Linked DNA regions of Homo sapiens: regions 1, 3, 4, 5, 6 and 7 are each linked to region 2. The links are contacts of gene promoters, found by promoter capture Hi-C in blood cells and fetal thymus (Javierre and others, 2016). All regions are on one chromosome and are shown on one strand. Each heading gives the region's core, a stretch centred on a gene start or on the middle of the fragment in contact. The rest is flanking DNA. Distances are from core to core; before and after follow the strand shown.

Evidence for each region. The method cuts DNA at HindIII sites, captures the fragments that hold promoters and counts their contacts. A CHiCAGO score of 5 or more calls a contact.
Region 1: a fragment that was not itself captured here is called in contact with the fragment with the promoter of NSD3 in region 2 in 2 of 17 cell types (naive CD8 T cells and non-activated CD4 T cells); the score reaches 7.4 in naive CD8 T cells.
Region 3: a contact is called between a fragment that was not itself captured here and the fragment with the promoter of NSD3 in region 2, in 2 of 17 cell types (fetal thymus and naive B cells). The highest score is 6.1, in fetal thymus.
Region 4: a fragment that was not itself captured here is called in contact with the fragment with the promoter of NSD3 in region 2 in 1 of 17 cell types (fetal thymus); the score reaches 8.0 in fetal thymus.
Region 5: a contact is called between a fragment that was not itself captured here and the fragment with the promoter of NSD3 in region 2, in 1 of 17 cell types (fetal thymus). The highest score is 5.2, in fetal thymus.
Region 6: a fragment that was not itself captured here is called in contact with the fragment with the promoter of NSD3 in region 2 in 1 of 17 cell types (M2 macrophages); the score reaches 5.9 in M2 macrophages.
Region 7: a contact is called between a fragment that was not itself captured here and the fragment with the promoter of NSD3 in region 2, in 1 of 17 cell types (neutrophils). The highest score is 12.2, in neutrophils.

What each region holds. Positions count from the first base shown.
Region 1 is chr8:38,980,928-38,983,627 of GRCh38, reverse strand. HTRA4 (HtrA serine peptidase 4) reads right to left here. Exons shown (of 9, transcript NM_153692.4): 6 at 1,861-1,975; 7 at 1,073-1,130; 8 at 580-675. Among named protein-coding and RNA genes, the nearest start is that of HTRA4, 8.0 kb to the right of the region's middle. The HindIII fragment of the contact is 9,484 bases long and covers 1-2,700 here.
Region 2 is chr8:38,380,894-38,383,593 of GRCh38, reverse strand. NSD3 (nuclear receptor binding SET domain protein 3) reads left to right here and starts at 1,323. Exons shown (of 24, transcript NM_023034.2): 1 at 1,323-1,795. It also overlaps a transcript of LETM2 not described here. RefSeq lists silencers at 417-766, 957-1,106, 1,137-1,536 and enhancers at 1,185-1,975, 2,266-2,700. The HindIII fragment of the contact is 5,398 bases long and covers 1-2,700 here.
Region 3 is chr8:38,962,114-38,964,965 of GRCh38, reverse strand. The region is part of intron 10 of PLEKHA2 (pleckstrin homology domain containing A2); the gene reads right to left. Among named protein-coding and RNA genes, the nearest start is that of HTRA4, 11 kb to the left of the region's middle. The HindIII fragment of the contact is 1,622 bases long and covers 792-2,413 here.
Region 4 is chr8:37,804,724-37,807,537 of GRCh38, reverse strand. All of the region lies in intron 1 of ADGRA2 (adhesion G protein-coupled receptor A2), which reads right to left. Among named protein-coding and RNA genes, the nearest start is that of ADGRA2, 9.2 kb to the right of the region's middle. The HindIII fragment of the contact is 3,877 bases long and covers 1-2,814 here.
Region 5 is chr8:37,690,286-37,692,985 of GRCh38, reverse strand. No RefSeq gene overlaps it. Among named protein-coding and RNA genes, the nearest start is that of ZNF703, 4.1 kb to the left of the region's middle. RefSeq lists a silencer at 2,561-2,700. The HindIII fragment of the contact is 2,359 bases long and covers 252-2,610 here.
Region 6 is chr8:39,039,066-39,041,765 of GRCh38, reverse strand. The region is part of intron 11 of ADAM9 (ADAM metallopeptidase domain 9); the gene reads right to left. Among named protein-coding and RNA genes, the nearest start is that of SNORD38D, 22 kb to the right of the region's middle. The HindIII fragment of the contact is 4,086 bases long and covers 1-2,700 here.
Region 7 is chr8:39,001,337-39,004,036 of GRCh38, reverse strand. The region is part of intron 1 of ADAM9 (ADAM metallopeptidase domain 9); the gene reads right to left. Among named protein-coding and RNA genes, the nearest start is that of ADAM9, 5.7 kb to the right of the region's middle. RefSeq lists an enhancer at 1,114-1,253. The HindIII fragment of the contact is 5,526 bases long and covers 1-2,700 here.

The DNA.
Region 1 (2,700 bases), core at 26-2,525, 600 kb before region 2:
TAAAATAGTTATTTTACACTCTGTTTCCTATGTCTTTGAAATCCACTTGAAATAACACACCCCCCCAATATACTACTATATAATGATAATATTTTTTTTTTTGAGGTGGAGTCTTGCTCTGTCGCCCAGACTGGAGTACAGTGGCGTGATCTCAGCTCACTGCAACCTCTGCCTCCCATGTTCAAGCGATTCTCCTGCCTCAGCCTCCCAAGTAACTGCAATTACAGGCGCACCCACTAATTTTTGTATTTTTAGTAGAGACGGGGTTTCAGTATGTTGGCCATGCTGGTCTCAAACTCCTGACCTCAGGTGATCCACCCACCCTGGCCTTCCAAAGTGCTGGGATTACAGGCATGAGCCACTGCACCTGGCCTGGGTTTTTTAATTTAAATTAAACTTACTTTAATTCAAAATTCAGTTCCTCAGTCACACTGGCCACATTTCATGTGCTCAGTACATACTACATGTAAGTAGTGGCCACTGTATTGGACAGATCAAGTCTGGATCCCCCATGCATTTTACCATGGCACACATTTAGAAAAAGCAAAGGTAGATGACAAAGGCCTTCACTTCTCTTACCTTTGAGCAGCTGTTCCTTCAACCACTTTACATACATAAACCCCAGAACTCACATCAGGGAAATCTGGATAATGCATTTTCAATTCTTCACTAAGGCTAAGAGAAGTGAGAAGATTAGGAAACAATGAATTAGTCTCCTGAGCCCTGGTAAAAGCCTGAAATTCTTAGTAGGTACTCTGTTCTGCTCAAGGTTCACAAGGGCCGAGGAAGATTCCATCAAGCTAATCACAGTCATTCTCCTCTCAGTTCGGGCTGAGCCTCTATCCCAAAGCCTAGAACCACTGGACATTATAAAATACAGCCACAATGAAATAAACTATGTATAGTTAGTGCTGATGCAGGCAGAGGCAGATACATACCCTGAGACAGATAGGGCCTATGGTCACAAGAGTACCTGGCTGTGGTCCAAGTGGCTCAGCTTTTCTGTTAAGACTGTGCAGCTATGGTTTTTGCCTCTGAAAAACAACCCAGACATATTCAAACACATGCTTACGGCACAGTGAGGGACAGCATTTGCAGACCCAGATATTTCTTATTTGAAAACGCCTTTCCTGGAAAGGAAAGTTATGATGTGTTACAACAAAACCTCTTTCCTGTTAGCGCAGCTTAAAAGACACCCATGTCCCAGGATCTCTTTGCCATCACAGCTGTCCTTTCAGGTTACCTGGATGAAACACAGGCTTCAGAGAACCTTTGTCATTAGCACTTACACTCCTCCCACCCACCTCCCACCTCCAGCCCCTGGGTTTCATTTCCACATTAGCTCAATCCAAATACTTCTGGGTACAACTCATGCTTGGTTTGTGCCTAGTCCCCCAATATTGCTGCTCAAATCACCATTATAGGAGCTGAGTACAAATGAGTGACCCAGTAGTCTACAGGATTCAAATGGCTGTCTCCGGGCCAGGCATGGTGGTTCATGCCTGTAATCCCAGCACTTTGGGAGGCCGAGGCAAGCGGATCACTGGAGGTCAGGAGTTCAAGACCAGCCTGGCCAACATAGTGAAACCCCGTCTCTACTGAAAATACGAAAATGAGCTGGGCGTGGCAGTGGGTGCCTGTAGTCCCAGCTACTCGGAAGGCTGAGGCAGGAGAATCGCTTGAACCCAGGAGGCAGAGGTTGCAGTAAACCAAGATCACGCCACTGCACTCCAACCTGGATGACGAGCAAAATTCTGTCTCAAAAACAAAAACAAAAAAATTGCTGTCACCACAAAAGATTGAGTGTTCCTGAAAAGCACAAGACGAAACCAAAAAAAAAAAAATCCCAACTTGCTTTACCTTTCATCTGGTGCTCATGGTATTCTGCCAAGAACTGCCTAACTCGATCTGAAGGAATTGCAAAGGAGATTCCATCAGTCACCCTCAATGAATTGACGCCAATCACATCACCATCCTGGCAAGGGAGGGGACATCATTCAGTCATGAAGTTTTGCAAACTGATGAGTGCAAGACCAGAACAAGCAGAAGAAGGAGTGAAGCTAGTTACTTAGGGTCAGAAAACAGGGCCGAGAGGAACTTTGTACTTCAAAAGAGAGCAACGGATGTTCCTTTATAGGGCAAATAGTGTGATGGGACAGCAAAGGGTAACTGCACATGCGCAGAAGTTACCTTCTTTTCATGGCCAAAGGATCAAGGATGCTGAGGACTTTTTAAAATCTTGAGCTCATGGCTGGGCAGAGTGGCTCACGCCTGTAATCCCAGCACTTTGGGAGGCCGAGGCGGGCGGATCACGAGGTCAGGAGATCGAGACCATCCTGGCTAACATGGTGAAACCCCATCTCTACTAAAAATATAAAAAATTAGCCGGGCCTGGTGGCGGGTGCCTGTAGTCCCAGCTACTCGGGAGGCTGAGGCAGGAGAATGGCGTGAACCCGGGAGGCGGAGCTTGCAGTGAGCCGAGATCGCGCCACTGCACTCCGGCCTGGGCGACCTAGCGAGACTCCGTCTCAAAAAAAAAAAAAAAAAAAAAAAAAAAAAAAAAACTTAAGCTCATTTTTTTCCTTTAGTAAGTTACATTGACTTTAAAAGTGAGCCACAGTTTGTATTTTGACAAAGGTAGAAGGACAAGGAGCATTTGCCTTTTTATTATTTAAAAGTAAAAATAAACATGGAAAAGGT
Region 2 (2,700 bases), core at 74-2,573:
TTCATAATTAGTGCCCTTTTAAATAACTGATCTGTAGAAATCATTTAATTTCCTTAAGTGATATTTAAAGATAGAGATATCTAATTTCTTGTAATAGTACCAAAGACATCCAGCACTATAACGTCTACAGAGTATGACGTCTAGCGGTAAAATGGCTTTATTCTCAGAACAGAGTATCGGTTTCCTCATTTGCTTGCTGCCTCTGTTTCCTTTTTACGTTCACGTCTCTGTGCTGTAACCTTCCAAATCCTTATCACCAGGCCCCAGGAAATATCACCTGGTCGGCACACTCCTGCAGGGCCAGATCACTGTGCACACACTTAACCTTCCATTGTTTTCCATACGTTTCCTAGGATGCGGGGGGCTAGAGGATGACGGAGAGTTGCCTCCCGGTTCTTCCTCTCGTTCTTATCTTGGGCCCTCTAGGACAAATGTCCCTCACGTCCCTCGATGCGAAGGTCTGGCCGCGAGCAGCCGCGGCCTCCGGCACGTGACGGTCACGGAGCCGTCGCGGTCCCCCGCGGCTGGGGGGCACCCGGGGATGCGGCGGGCGCTGACGTCGTCCTCCCGGTTACCCACAAGCCTCCGGGCCGCAGCAGAGCAGGAAGAGGCGCGCGGGGCCGGCGCCTGCCGGGGAGGTCGAGGCGCTCCCTCGGCGAGCCGGCGCCGCCGGCCGGGTCTCCTACTGCTTGCAACCGGGGGAGGGGGACCATCCGACAGCTCAGCCGGGGCTGAGAGGGAGACGACGCCAAGGCGGTCTTGCATCGCCCCCGGCTTTCCAAATGCAGACCCTACCGGAACCGGAGCCCTTCCCTGACAGCCGTAGGACGGGAGACGGCCGAGGGGTCGCCTGGACTGCCCCGCCCTCGCGCGGTGACCCACCGGGGACCGTGCGAGGGTCGCTTCTAACCCTTAAGAGCTAGAGAGCCGAGTCACCCTGAGGAGCGCCGTATGGCGCTGGTTGCGCGTTGTTCTTTAATCAGCCTCACTGAACGCGCCGATCCCAGTTTTACCTCCCGGGCCCCACCTTTCCACGCCTCCTCCGGCTTCCCGGGGTGTTTTGTGTGTCACTCTCCCACGTACAGTCCCTCCCCGTCCCTCGTTCCTCGGCCCTCTCGCCCGGTCTCCCTAGTCGTCCAGACGCTAGCTGCCGCGGGCGTTCCTGGTTCGCGCTCCCGCCCCCTCCGCCCCGCCGACTCGCCGCTTCCTCCGGAGCCCCAGCGTCCCGAACCAGGGACTGCATTTCCCGGCAGGCGCCGCGGCCCGCGGCCAATGAGGGGCTGAGGATTTGGCGGCGGCGGCGCCCCGAGAGTCGGGGTGGGGGGGCTTTGTGCGCGGCGGCGGCGGGAGAGGCGGCGGCGGCGGCCAGCACGGAGGCGGAGGCCGAGGGGGCTGTGCACAGGTCGCCGCGGAGAGGCGTGCGAATTCCGAGCCGAGCGCCGAGGACCGTGCTACCCAGGCCGGGCTGCCAGCCGCAGGCTCCTCTCTGGCAGCAGCGGCGGCGCGGCGACCCCCGTCCCTCGGCCTCCCCTTCCCATCCCACCTCCCGAGCCTTCCTCTTCCCGCAGCACGCCCGGCCCGGCCCGGCCGTGGCCCTCCTCAGTGCCGGCCGCCATGGCAGAGGCGTCCGGCGCGGGGAAAATCTAGCCCGGGGATTTCATGCGGCCTAGCTCGGTTCCGCCTCCTCCTCGCGCGGCCCCAGCGGCTGCCCGCACCCCAGCCCCACTCCGGGCCTCCGTGTCTCTCCTGTGATCGCACTGACACGGCCGGGGGGTTAGAATGGAACAAACTGAAGGTAAAGTGCGTGTGCGTGTGTGTATGTGTGTGTGTGTGTGTGTGTGTGTGTGCGCGCGCGCGCGTGTGTAGTGCTAGGAAGGGCTGAGGAGGGAACGACGGGGAGGGGGCGACCTAGGGATGGAGCGCCAGACCCCAGGAGGAATGGAAGGGGAAGCGGGTGGCCTGAAAGGGCTCGAGGGGAGTCCTGACGGAGGAGCAGATGGCAAGGTGGGGGGTGTGGAGGGAATTGGGGGGTGGGCCAGGGGAGGTGGGGAGTGGGATGGGAGTCGGAGTGGCGCTGAGCTGGGAATTGGGAAAGTGGGATGGGGGCGGGGATAAGGATGGATCGGGGAGGGGCAGGGAAAGGGGAGAAGAGTTGCATGGAGATTACAGACCTGGGTGGACTGATAAATAGGGAGATTTGGGGATGGAGTGTAGGAACCAGAAGAGTCTGGGAGAAGGGGATAAATTTGCTGGAGAAATGGGGCATTTTATGGGAATGAAGGGAGAAATGAGGAATGGAAGTGAAGGAAAAGGTGGATTAGGAAAGGGGATGAGGCAGGCTGCAATAGGAGAATGGGAAATAGACGCAGGAAACTGGAAGACAGGATTGGGCTAGGGAAGGAAATTAACTGAATGATGACAGGGATGAGAACGATCGACTTAGCGTCAGAGTGGGAGGAAGAGAAGGGGATGGAGGTCGTTAAAGTGTTAGGAAGGGAGGCCTTTTGTTCCTGTATTTGTGTGTATTCTGTGTCTTTCTTTCAAGGCTAGAGAATAGAGAAGCTGGTGGTTATGGGATTGTGATTGTTGTGAAATGGGGAGGTGTGGGTTTTACTGTTTTGAGGGAGAAGGCGATGTGTTTGTGTTATGGAAGGGAGGCAGGGAGAGACATGGCCATAATTTGATGGTTTTGGGGAGGGA
Region 3 (2,852 bases), core at 353-2,852, 580 kb before region 2:
TAGAATGTGGGAAGATGGCTTAAGCCCAGGAGTTCGAGACCAGCATGGGCAACAGAGCAAGACCTCTTCTCCCTAACCTTTGCAAAAAAAAAAAAAAAAAAAAAAAAAAAAAAGGGAAGTAACAAGAAAAAATAAAATAAAATCACTTTAAAACCTCACAAAATTCTAAAATAACAATTGAGAGCAAATCCAGTCTTTTTGCTATTCATTTCTGTTTTCCAAAATACAAAGATACATTATATCTTGATTTTTTTTTTCAGTTAATAATAGAAGGATTTTTCCATGTTACCAGACGTCTTTGTAAGCATTTTCAGGGGATCCAAGTAGATATACTATGGTTCACCCACCTAGTCCTCTAAAACAGTGGTCATCAACCTTTTCAGCATAGGGATCGGTTTTGTGGAAGACAATTTTTCCATGAACTTGGAAGGGTAAAGGGAGGGGGATGACGGGTGGTTTCGGGATGAAACTGTTCCACCTCAGATCATCAGGCATTACATTCTCATAGGAAGCGCACAACCTAGATCCCTCACATGCACAGTTCACAATAGGGTTCGCAGTCCTATGAGAATTTAATGCCGCTGCCGATCCGACAGGAGGTGGAACTCAGGCGATAATGTTTGCTCTCCCACTGCTCACCTCCTACTGTGTGGTCAGGTTCCTAACAGGCCATGGACCAGTACCAGTCCACAGCTTAGGGGTTGGGGATCGCTGCTCTAAAATATTTTTTGAATATTCCCTATTCTCCTCATATGAATAATGCTGCTACTCACATCTTTGGGGATAAAGCTTTTTTCGTATTTAGGAATATTTAGGAACCCTCAGCTCCCAAGGCAATTACTAAATTAAAGAATTCACACCCTTTTAAATCTCTTCTTACATCTGGCCAGAGAGATTTCTGGCCAATAATATAAATTTCATTTGCCAACATTTTTGTTACATGCACCCTTGCTAGAATTAAATATTATAATTTTTTAAATCTTTGCTAATATGATAGGTAAAATAATTAAATCTCTTTCTTAAAACATTTAGTAATTTAGTGAAGACGGAAATTGTTTACTAGTTATATTTCTTCCCTAATTCTCTAATTCCTTCTTAAGAACATTTTTCGGTCAGATAACCTAGATAGTAACTCAGCCATGAAGATAAATGCTACTCCCTAATAAATGTTATTTTAAAATACTGCTCAAAAAGAAAATCAGATATTGCAATGAATTCCATATGAGAAGAAACAATATTATTTTATTGAGATCACAATTACAATGTTTTATTTTTAAATTTTTTTTGGAGCAGGGTATTCCTGGCCTCAAGCAATCCTCCTGCCTCAGCCTCCCAAAGTGCTGGGATTACAGGCATGAGCCACCAGGCCTGGCCTATAATCTCTCCTAGTAGTTTTAAGAACTGGGATTCATGAGAAACAAAAACTCAATGAAACTCCAAAATTGTATGCAAAAATTATGGTTATGTACATATCTATTTTTACGGAAAGCCTGTGCTTAGCTTTCATCAAAATCGTAAAACCACATCACAAAGTAGCTTCATGAAACAGAGGTTTAAAAAAATATATATAGCTGAAGTCTACCCACCCATGATGAATTACCATGAGACTAAAAACATACTTTAAACTCAGTAAAACAAAAAAGGAAGTGCCAAGGTCATAGCTTCATCTCTTCCTGGTGTGCTTATGTGTGTGCACCTGTTTCTGGTGCTCGGTTCAAAAGAAAAAGCAGGGCTTCTGTCCTTGAGGGCAGTTTTTGAGATGAGTAGGACAGACAGTATTAAAATGAATCGTTGCAGCCTGCAGTTTTATTGTAGTCCAGTGAGCTTCTATTGACTATCTAACATAAGCCCAGCACTATAATAGATACAATGGTTTGAAGCAATGAATTCTAGAGGCCATAAAGGCTTCCATATCTACTTCTGGTTACTGCCATTGCCGCTATCCAAAATTTTTAGGCAACTCCTCCTTCATTCTGTTCTCCACCTCTGCAACCCTCCTTTCCCAAGAACTAGTGCCATCTCTAGACACAGCCCTGCCACATACGATTGTGTAGATTGCACACTACATAGTTCTAGGTGACATCATTCACCCTGTAGTCTAAATTAAACAGTAAGTATCCGAAGAGCTCTAATGCAACACTCTGCAACTCACTTGAGTCCACTTATTGCTACTCTTGTCCTGACATAGCACCCTAGTTCTAACAACTGGGCTTATGCCAAGCTAAGACCAGTTTGCACCACATTTCTCATTTCGAATAACTAATTTCCCTCTTGATAAACTGCCTAATTCCCTTGACATTCTATGAATGGGAAATGGGGAAATGGTGACCTCTACTTGCCTGGTAGCTCAAGAATTGAAATGTGATTTTGAACTTTTGCCCAGAACTGAGAACTGTTTACCTGCTTACAAGCTTGCTGAAATCACTGGCCTTTCTACCTGCTTAGATACCTGGTTATTTCCAGATCTTGGATTTTTGGTCACCATGATCCATTTGCCAAGACACCCAATTACCCCAAGTTGGTCTTCTCCAACAGAGTCAGACTTCCCTGGTTGTCTGTGACCACACCCTCTATATCATGGGTTCTGGACCAGGCTGCTCTTATTTTTTTCTTTTCTTTTGGTTTACTTTTGCTTGTTTTTAGAGACAGGGGTCTCACTGGGTTGCTGAGGCTGGTGTCGCACTCCTGGGCTCCAACAATCCTTCCACTTTGGCCTCCCAAAGTGCTGGGATTAGAGGTGTGAGCCACTGCACCCGGCCTGGACCAGGCTGCTCGCAAACAACCCAAGTTGGCAAATCTTGCTCCAGCACCTGGTGCTTCCCAGTTGGTTCCATAATTCACTGGATTTATTA
Region 4 (2,814 bases), core at 15-2,514, 580 kb after region 2:
AAAAAAGAAGCATTGCCTCTAAAATATAGATGCTGCAAAGACGGAAATTAACCAATGCTTAATGACATAATTACCCAATGTCATACTATGTCATTAGCAATAATTATTATGTTCGATGACGGATGTGGGTACATTTTAGTATGGTTGATACGACAGTAAGACCTCCAAAAGTGAGGATGCTCGCCGTGCACAGGCCCTGTTTCAACACACAACCTCAAGCGAAAGGCTGGCCTGTGGCTTCCCGTCCCTCCGTGGCTGCCTTCACATGCATTTAGCCTGACTGCAAGGGACATAAATGTTGGTGAGGACATGTAAGGTGTTCTGCCCGCTCCTGCACTTCCCTGCCACCCTTCCCTGGGCTGGACGCTTGTCAGGTCAGCCCTGAACACCGACTGGCAATAGAAGGAGGCCTAGGGAGGGGCTTTAGGGGGTTGGGTCCTGAGACTGCCCCTGAACCCAGCCTGGAAGCTGGGCTGTCCAGGCAGGGCTGGAGGCCCAGGCCATGAGAGAAAACAGACCTGCAGTGAGTCCTGCTCCACCCTGCCTTCTCTCATAGGTCTAGTCTCCTTTCTCTAACCTACCCTCTCTACAAGGGCACCCCAACTTGGTGGTGAGCAGGGGGAACCAAGAAACTGGGGCTTGGATGGGAAGGGAATCTGTGGCTTTGGGACAGAATCTGGAGACAGAAGCCTAAGAAAATGGGCTACATGCCGGGCGCAGTGGCTCACATCTGTAATCTCAGCACTTTGGGAGGACAAGGTGGATGGATCACTTGAGGTCAGGAGTTCGAGACCAGCCTGGCCAACATGGTGAAACCCCGTCTCTATTAAAAATACAAAAATTAGCTGGACAAGGTAGCATGCATCTGTAGTCCCAGCTACTAGGGAGGCTGAGGCAGGAGAATTGCTTGAACCCAGGAGGCAGAGGTTGCAGAGAGCCAAGATCGTGCCACTGCACTCCAGCCTGGGTGACAGAGTGAGACTCGACTCTGTCTCAAAAAAAAAAAAAAAAGAAAAAGAAAAAAGAAAAAGAAAAAGAAAAAGAAAATGCCACACCCATAGGGGTCACATTGTCTGAAGCTACCCGAGGTGGTGCCAGAGAGGAAGAGGAAACAGTTGGGGGTAATCAGTATACCTTGATGGGGATTTGGGGGTCACAGCATCCTGGCTTGAGCACAAGGAACATAGTCTGCTGTAATCATCCACAGTTAGGTATTCATTCATTCATCCATTCATTCATTCATTGCTCAGAGCTACCTAACAGCCACTGTGCACTCAGCCTTGTGTAACAGGCTAGTCCTACAAACATAAATCATACATCACATATCTGCAAACTTCCATTCATAGGAGGTGGAGGGAGATGTGTCCAACAGGATGGAATGTTCATCTATGTGTGTGTCTGTGTCCCCCTGATTTGTGGAGGCTGGGAAATTACCCCCAACTGACCTTAAACATTTCCTCCATGCACAACCTAAAAGCCCCCCGGGGGGAGCCAAACTTTTGAGTGAAGAAAGCAGACCTCTTTGAGGGGTAGGTGGTGATGGAGGTCTCACTATGTTGCCCAGGTTGGTCTTGAACTCCTCTTGCCTCAGCCTCTGGACTAGCTAGTATGCCACCATGCCCAGCTAACAAAAAAAAGTGTTTGTTTGTTTGTTTGTTTGTTTTTGTTTGAGAAGGAGTCTCACTCTGTCGCCCAGGCTAGAGTGCAGTGGTACGATCTCGGCTCACTGCAACCTCCACCTCCCGGGTCCAAGTAACTCGCCTGCCTCAGCCTCATGAGTAGCTGGGATTACAGGCGCGCACCACTACACCCGGCTAATTTTTTGTATTTTTAGTAGAGACGGGGTTTCACTGTGTTAGCCAGGATGGTCTCGAACTCCTGACCTCGTGATCCACCCACCTCGGCCTCCCAAAGTGTTGGAATTACAGGCGTGAGCCACCGTGACTGGCCAAAAAAGAAAAAAAAAATTTAGACACGGATCTCTATGTGCCCAGAATGGTTTTGAACCCCTGGCCTCAAGTGATCCCCCTGCCTCAGCCTGCAGAGTAGCTGAGATTACAGGGAAGGGCCAACACACGCGGCGCAGACCTCTTTTAAAATACAAACAGACCCAAAAGGATGGAAGTTATCAATGTTTTCTACCTACGCAGATACTCATCTTTGACCTTTCCTCCATAGAAGCTATATTTGCTACCCTGATCCTGTCCGGCGTTGTAAGCTGGTACCTGTCTCCAGGAGACTGTAAGGACAGAAGGGCAGAGCCTGGGTCTTTTGCCTCCTCCCATGGGGTGAAGATACACTGTAGGCATTGGCTGAGTGACAGGGGCAGAGCTCCAGGATGGAGGGGATGTTTGGTCAACAGAGAGTTCACTGCTGAGCCCTGGGTTTCCCCAAGCCAAACGGCAGTTTCTTTCTACCTCCAATTCCCTCTCTCTCCCCAACACCTAGGAGATAGCATCCATCCTTCTCTGAGTGAGCCGGGCTCCACGGTACAGCCTTTCTGGGATGCCACACCCATAGGGGTCACATTGTCTGAAGCTACCCGAGGTGGTGCCAGAGAGGAAGAGGAAACAGTTGGAAGGGCGTTTTAGAGACCATGGGTTGCACATTTCCTGGGTCAGACTGATTTCAAATACTCCATGCAGTGCTTATGTACAGGGACCCCGTGAGTACGCTTGTACTTGTTAGGCCATTATGGGGTCGGGGGAGCCCCTTTTCCCTGGCTCATGTATCCATGTGGAGGAAAACGGATTAGGGCATCTGCTCTGTCCCATCTCCAGGGATGGCTCCTCTGATTGGTCAGTGTGCAAAGAG
Region 5 (2,700 bases), core at 182-2,681, 690 kb after region 2:
TGGCTCAGGGGCCTTCCACTGTCCAGGTCCTCCTCAGATGGCCCTGGGAATGAGCGGCCACCATTAAAATGGGACAGGGGAGAGGGCTGCCTGAGAGTGCCCCCATGACACTGTGGTGAAGAATGACAGTTCGGTATGTCAGGCGCTTAATAAACATCAGGTGTTGCTATCATTCTCAGTTCAAGCTGAAGAGAGTCAGGCCCAGAACCAGGCTGCTGTGGGGACCCCGGGCAAGTGAACCTCCCTAAGCTTTGGTTTCCTCCAGGGTAAAATGGAAGCGTGGCCACTTCAGAGTTGGGAGACCAGAAGCAGACAATGCATGTCACCTGTTTCATGCTTGGCACAAAGAAAGTTGAAGGTAAATGATGGCTGTAACCGATTGCATCATTTGTGTCTGAGGAGCAATTGCTCAGGGGAGCAGCCACATCAGCACCAGATTTAGCCCTGGGAACCCAAGCAGAAGAGCCCAGGTTGTCTCTGAATTCTACAGAAATGAAAGTAACCCTTCCCCAGCCTCCAGTTCAATGTGTCTTTTTTTTTTTTTGAGACGGAGTCTTGCTGTCTTGCCCAGGCTGGAGTGCAGTGGCATGATCTCGGCTCACTGCAACCTCTGCCTCTCGGGTTCAAGCGATTCTCCTGCCTCAGCCTCCCGAGTAGCTGGGATTACAGGCGTGTGCTATGATGCCTAGCTAATTTTTGTATTTTTAGTAGAGATGGGGTTTCTCCATGTTGGCCAGGCTGGTCTTGAACTCCTGACCTCAAGTGATCTGCCGGCCTCAGCCTCCGAAAGTGCTGGAATTACAGGCATGAGCCACCGTGCCCAGCCCGCAATGTGTCTTAAAAAAAAAAAAAAATAGCCCATCCCTCCCTAGAAGCCATCAAGAAAATCCTTTAAGAAACTGTGAATATGTATAGATTATTTTTTCACTACTTCAATTTACATAAAATTCACCACCCAGGAAAAAATGCTCGAGTCAGGTTAAGACCTAGAGGGGGTAGATTTGTTGTGTGGGGTTAATGTGTAGTTTTCAGTCCTTGCCGAGGCAGAATTGCCTGAATGATCGCCTCTCTCTCCTCTCTCTGCATAACACTCAAACCCTAATGGCAACAACATGAAATAATATCTCACTGGGTAACTATTTACATTTTTTTTTTTTTTACAAGCTGTAAGAACTCTGAAAAGTCTGCCTCATAGAGAACTTGGTTTTCCTCCCTGGCGCTTAATATCTTTCAGCGGCTGGCAATTACTGCTTTGGCCGGGAGCCCTGATTTAGCACACTGCACTCAGGGCACTTGAAGGCGCTTCCTCTGTCTGCCCCATCCCCCGGCTTCAGACACAGCCTGGGGCACGAGAGGGGCACCAGGGAACAGTGGGAGCAAGCAGGCTAAGACCAGGACAGCCAGCCCTGCAGGAAGCCCGCCCCACCGATGACTCAAGAGGCTCCCTCTTCTACATTCTCACAGTTGGTATTATGTTCTATTATTACACCTATCACATGGCATCTGCCACTATTTGCTTCCTTGTCTGATCTCCCACTGGACTGTGAATGCTTCTTGTTTTCCTCATCCTCTTTGTGTACTTATTGCCTAACAGAGCGGTTCACCATCACCACAGTAGCCAACGTTGAGTGCCAAACGCTGTTCTAAGCACTTTGCGTGCATTCTCTCATTTAATCCTTGCAGAAACCTTAGGAGATGGGTCCTATGGTTACTTCCATTTCACAGGCACAGAAAGGTTAAGTAACTTGCCCAAGGCCCAAGCTGGTAGGAGGTGAGCCTGGAGTGTCAAATCCAGGTCCAGGCAGTCTCAGTGCAGTTAGTACCCAGTGAATGTTTCTGATGAACGAAGAATTTTACAAAAATAGGGCTATTTATTTATATCACACCTCACTGTATTCCCAAAAGGTTTAACACGGATGATTGTATTTTTCAAAATGTTGATTGTATAAACATGTTAAAGTACCTTTTCCCAAATGCATTGTTTTTTTGAGACAGAGTCTTGCTCTGTTGCCCAGGCTGGAGTGCAGTGACGTGATCTTGGCTCACTGCAACCTCCGCCTCCTGGGTGCAAGCGATTCTCCTCCAGTCTCAGCCTCCCAAGTAGCTGGGATTACAGGCGCCCACCATCATGCCCAGCTAATTTTTGTATTTTTAGTAGAGACAGGGTTTCACCACGTTGGCCAGGCTGGTCTTGAACTCTTGACCTCAGGTGATCCTCCTGCCTCAGCCTTCCAAAGTGCTGGGATTACAGGCGTGAGCCACTGCGCCTGGCCCCAAATGCATCTTTGGGTCCAGCATCTCACAGCAATTTTCTTTCCTTTGGGCAGGTGTTATTATCCTTGTTTGACAGATGAGGAAATGGGCTCGGAGAGCTTAAGGGAGCGTCCAAAGTCACACACAGCAAAAGGCTGGCAGAATGGGCACAGAATGAGTCCTTCTCGGTCCCTTCCCTGGTTCTTGGTCTATTGCCTTCTGCCACTGTTGTTGTGTGGACAGAGAGCTAACTCCTTTTGATAAAAGAAGGAAGAATGAACTCCTTTTCCTCACCTAAGAATTTCCTCTAGAGATGTGGTGGGGAGGAAGGGACAAAAGGAAGTGCGGACCAAAGCTTGTCTCCAAGCCTGTGCGTTTGATCCCGGTCCTTGAGCAGCTGCTTTGAAGAGGGTGGTTTGGTTTATCTCCTATCAGCTCCTGGGGAGC
Region 6 (2,700 bases), core at 123-2,622, 660 kb before region 2:
CTATATAATAATTCACTTTTCTTACAATATATTGTACTTCCAATAAAATATCTTTAAAACATATCACTTACATTGAAATACAAAATGATAATTCTCAGCATCAGAAGAGACTTTAAAAATTATTTAGTCCTATGAGAATAAAGTTTTATTTATCTAACACAGTAAAGGTTCTTCAAATATTGGAAGGTAGCTGTACGTTGTCTCCAATCTTTTTTCTACTCTGAAGGATAACATTTTTATGTTCACCCATGCCCATTACCACTTATTAGGAGCTCTGCAAAAATAATGCAAATGGGCAACTCCAGTTCAGATGCACACTAGCCATCAAAAGGCAGACTGCACAGTGTAGAATTTCAGCTACTCCTATATGACAAGTTTTCAACTTGAGCTTTACATATAATAAATTTTATGATAATTCCTGGGAACCGTGGTTAGTACTTTGAAAGTTAGTTGGCCTTTAAGAAATGTCCAACTTGAGCTATGTGAGATTTATATAAATGCAATTTTGATATGTTCTACCTGGGATTTTTTTTTTAGCTACTACTTTACTCAATAACTATAAAATACTTTCAGGTAGTCCCACTGGCTATTTTTACCTTTGAAAACTAGTGGAAATTACACCTATACATCACCTATATCTTTGAGGAATCCATGTCACATTAAAATTCTATTTTATTTTTGCTTTTGTAGACTGAGTTTTTGGTGTGATATCCAAAAATCATTGTTAAGGCCAATGTCAAGGAGCTTTTCCTCAACGTTTTCTTCTTAGAAAGTTTTACAGTTTCAAGTCTGACATTTAGGTATTTTATCCATTTTGAGTTGATTTTTGTGTATGGTGTATGATAAGGGTCCAATTTCATTCTTTTGCATGTAGAAATCCAGTTACCCCAGAACCATTTATTGAAGAGAACTATCCTTTCCCCATTGTATCCTCCTGGTGCCCTTGTCAAAAATTAATTGACTACACATGTTTGGATTTGTTTCTGGGCTCTCTATTCCGTTCCATCGGTCTACGTGTCTGTTTTTATACCACTACCATGCTGTTTTGATTACTATAGCTATCAAACTAAAAAGCTCTGCACAGCAAAGATAACAACCAACAAAATGAAAAGTCTGCAGATTGGGAGAAAATATCTGCAAACCACATATCTTATAAGGTGTATCTTATAACCATGTATCTTATATCCAAAATATATTTTTTAAAACTCACACAACTCCATAGTAGAAAAACAAATAACTCGATTTTTAAAATGAACAAAAGACTTAAATAGACATTTCTCCAAAGATGACATAAAAATGGCCAACAGGTGCATGAAAAGATGCTCAATATCATTAATCATCAAGGAAGTGCAAATCAAAACCACAATGAAATACCACCTCACCCTTGTTAGGATGACTACCATCAAAAAGAGATAACGGCCAGGTATGGTGGCTCACCGCTGTAATCCCAGCACTTTGGGAGGCTGAGGCGGGCGGATCGCTTGAGGTCAGGAGTTCCAGACCAGCCTGGCCAACATGGTAAAACCCCGTCTCTACTAAAATACAAAAATTAGCCAGGTGTGGTGGTGCACGTCTGTAATCTCAGCTACTTGGGAGGCTGAGGTAGGAGAATCGCTTGAACCTGGGAGGCAGAGGTTGTAGTGAGCCGAGATTGCACCACTGCACTCCAGCTTGGGCAACAGAGAGAGACTCTGTCTCAAATAAATAAATAAATAAATAAAAGAGATGACAAGTGCTAGTGAGAGTATAGAAAAAAAGGAATCTTGAGCACTGTTGGTGGGAATGTAGATTGGTGCAGCCACTGTGGAAAACAATAGGAGTTCCCTAAAGAAATTAAAAACAGAACTATCATATGACCCAGCAATCTCACTTTTGGGTATACACCCAAAGAAAATGAAAACACCACCTCATAAAGACGTCTGTATTATCCCATTTTCAGTGCAGCATTAGCCAAGATATGGAAACAAACAAAGTGTCAACAGTTGAATGGACAAAACTGTGGCACATATAAGACTGGTAATTATTCATCCTTATAAAAGGAGATCCTGACATTTACCACAACATGGAGGAACCTGGAGGATGTTATGCTGCGTGAAGCAAGCCAGACAGAAAAAGAAAAATGTTGCATGATCTCACTTATTTTGGAATCTAAAAAAAGAAGTGGAAAATCCAGAGACAGAAAATAAAACACTGATTATGGTGGAGGTGGAGGAAATGGGACATGTAGGTCTGATACAAAGTAGCAGATATGTAAGACAAACAAGTCTAGAGATCTCAGGTACAGCATGAGGACTATAGATAATAATATTGTATTACATTCAAGATTTTTGCTAAAAGAGATTATAGGTGCTCTTTGCCACACACACAAAAAATGGGCAACAATGTGGAATGATGGATGTGTTAATCTGCTTGACTAACCATTTCACCACCTATATTTACATCAAAACATGTTGTACATCTTAAATACAATAAAATTTATATCTTACATATATTTGTATTTTTTCAAGGGAATTTGGTACCCTGAATCTCTTTTCATCAGTTTGAGCAATGGTACCAGAAGTAGCAGCAGGAGTGAAAGCTATGTTGCATTCTAGTTAATGAAGAAGCAGCCCTATCTATAGCTTGGTCTTTTGTATATCCAAGGAACTCTAAGAAACATATTTTTTGCCCTGAGTAGTCATGTTAAACTCTTCTTTGCTA
Region 7 (2,700 bases), core at 177-2,676, 620 kb before region 2:
AACAGGTTCAGTTACTTTATAGGCAAAGTTAGTTTACTTTACTTATAGTTTCAGGCCAAAACTAGAAACCAAGTCTTCTGTCTTCTATGAATCTTTTACCGAGACTGCCAATGAAGTAAAATAAAAGCTAAATATAGGAAGATTATACGTAACTTTTTTTCCTTCTTTTCCATTTTAAACACAATTCTCATTTGAAAAGCAAAATGCCGTAACTAATCACTTATTTTTAAAAGACTTTCAAAATTATAGCACCCTGAAATAATTTCTGTGTGTAAGGGCTGTTATTCTGATATTGACATCTTGCTTCTAAAATCCAAGCAACCACTTTCTGAATTAAAGCCATGCCATAAAAAGTTCCAAAACATCATAACAAATGCACATACTGGGGGAATGTCATCAAAATAATACATACTAATTGTATGAAAATCCTCCTTCCCATGTTTTTTTCCCAAAATTCCTTTCTTATCTCTAGGTCAGGTTTTTTTCTTTTTTCCTGTTCATATCCTGCATAGATTTTCCCCAAATTCCCTTTAGTTGTTTTTTTTTTTTTTAAATTCCAAATAGTAGCAGTTTCTCATGGGAACCAAAATAACATTTTTCCACATTAATATAAAAAAAGAGCTTTAATATTATTTGTATAAACCTTCAACCTGTAAGGGCGCTGTCCTGTGTACTGTGGAATGTTTTGCAGCATCCCTGGCCTCCACCCACTAGATGCCAACAGCATCCCCCAGTTGTGACAGCTAAAAGTTTCAGGCCAAGACTAGAAACCAAGTCTTCTGTCTTCTATGAATTTTTTACCCAGACTGCCAATGAAGTAAAATAAAAGCTAAATATAGGAAGATTACATATAACTTTCTTTCCCTCTTTTGCATTTTAAACACAATTCTCATTTTGAAAACCAAAATGCCACAATTAATCATTTATTTTATCAAGAGTCTGAGACCAGCCTGGCCAACATGGTGAAACCCTGCCTCTACAAAACATGCAAAATTAGCCAGGCCTGGTGGCGCTCTCCTGTTGTCCCAGCTACTCGGGAGGCTGAGGCACGAGACCACTTGAGCCAGGATGGGGAGGTTGCAGTGAGCTGAGAACCACTTTAGCCCAGGAGGGGGAGGTTGCAGTGAGCTGAGATTGCACCACTGCACTCCAGCCTGGGCAACCTCCGAGGGAGACTCCGTCTAAAAAAAAAGAAAAAGAGAAAACGGCCTGAAGAGAAAACGTGAACCACTGAAACATGAAACTTAACATGTCTAATCTTAAAGAAAGGAAAAGGTGTTAGTTGCACTTCTTTCTTTCTCTAACTCCGTAGATCTTTCTATACACTGTAGTGTGTTTTAGAGGAAGTCTGAGCACACTTTTCATAATAGTAATTGTAGTACAGGGAAGTGAGTTAAAAGAGTTCTACCTAATTGTGGCCGGGCACAGTGGCTCAAGCCTATAGTCCCAGCAATTTGGGAGGCCGAGGCAGGCGGATCACGAGGTCAGGAATTCCAGACCAGCCTGGCCAATATGGTGAAACCCCGTCTTTACTAAAAAAAAATACAAAAATTAGCCGGGCGTGGTGGTGCGTGCCTGTAGTCCCAGCTACTCGGGAGGCTGAGGCAGAAGAATCACTTGAACCTGGGAGGTGGAGGTTGCAGTGACCCCAGATTGTGCCACTGCACCCCAGTCTGGGCAACAGAGTGAGACTCTGTCTCAAAAAAAAAAAAAAAAAAAAAAAAGAATTCTACCTAATTGCAAAGCAAACAAATGTGAACTCCAAACCATGGGCTTCTCCTGCCTACTACATAAACAAACAGCCACTTTTAAGTACTTCCACTGTAGAAAATAAAAATAAACCTGGCCTCCACATTCAGGATAAATAAGATAATTCTGTTTCCAAAGTATTTCTTGTAGAGAAATTGTTTCAATTAGATCTACAAAGCACTATTATTTCGAGCCATATAATAGGTTGGTGCAAAAGTAATTGCAGTTTTTGCCTTTTTTTTTTTTTTTTTTTTAATCATTCTAGTATTCGCCAGGTCAATTCCAGATAAATACATACCGTATATTAATAACTACCTTTGGGCTGGGCGTGGTGGCTCATGCCTGTAATCCCAGCACTTTGGGAGGCCGAGGCGGGTGGATCACAAGGTCAGGAGTTCAAGACCAGCCTTGCCAACATGGTGAAACCCTGTCTCTACTAAAAATACAAAATTTAGCCAGGTGTGGTGGCGCACGCGCCTGTAATCCCAGCTACTCAGGAGGCTGAGGCAGAAGGATCGCTTGAACCTGGGAGGCAGAGGTTGCAGTGAGCTGAGATCGAGCCATTGCACTCCAGTCTGGGCAACAGTGTGAGACTCCATCTCAAAAAAAAAAAAAACTACCTTCAAACATACTTAATTATAATTTCTACTGCTAGGTCTACACTCTTACTTTTTTTAGTGTTACACTTTTCTTAAATATTTACCCATCTTTACATTTAAAAAGAAATGGCTTCTGTTGTTTGTTTAAGTGTCCCTTTGGGAAAAACACCACCCATTTCTAAGATTTAATGCCCTAGACAATTTAAGTTCCTCCAGCAAAGAATTTAAGTTCTTTGAGATCAAGGACGGTATCTTATTCATCATGTACTTCCTGCACTGGTACAGTACGTATTCAATAAAATATGTGTTGAATAAATAACCTCTTCTGATGGTTACAGCTAAACAAACATAG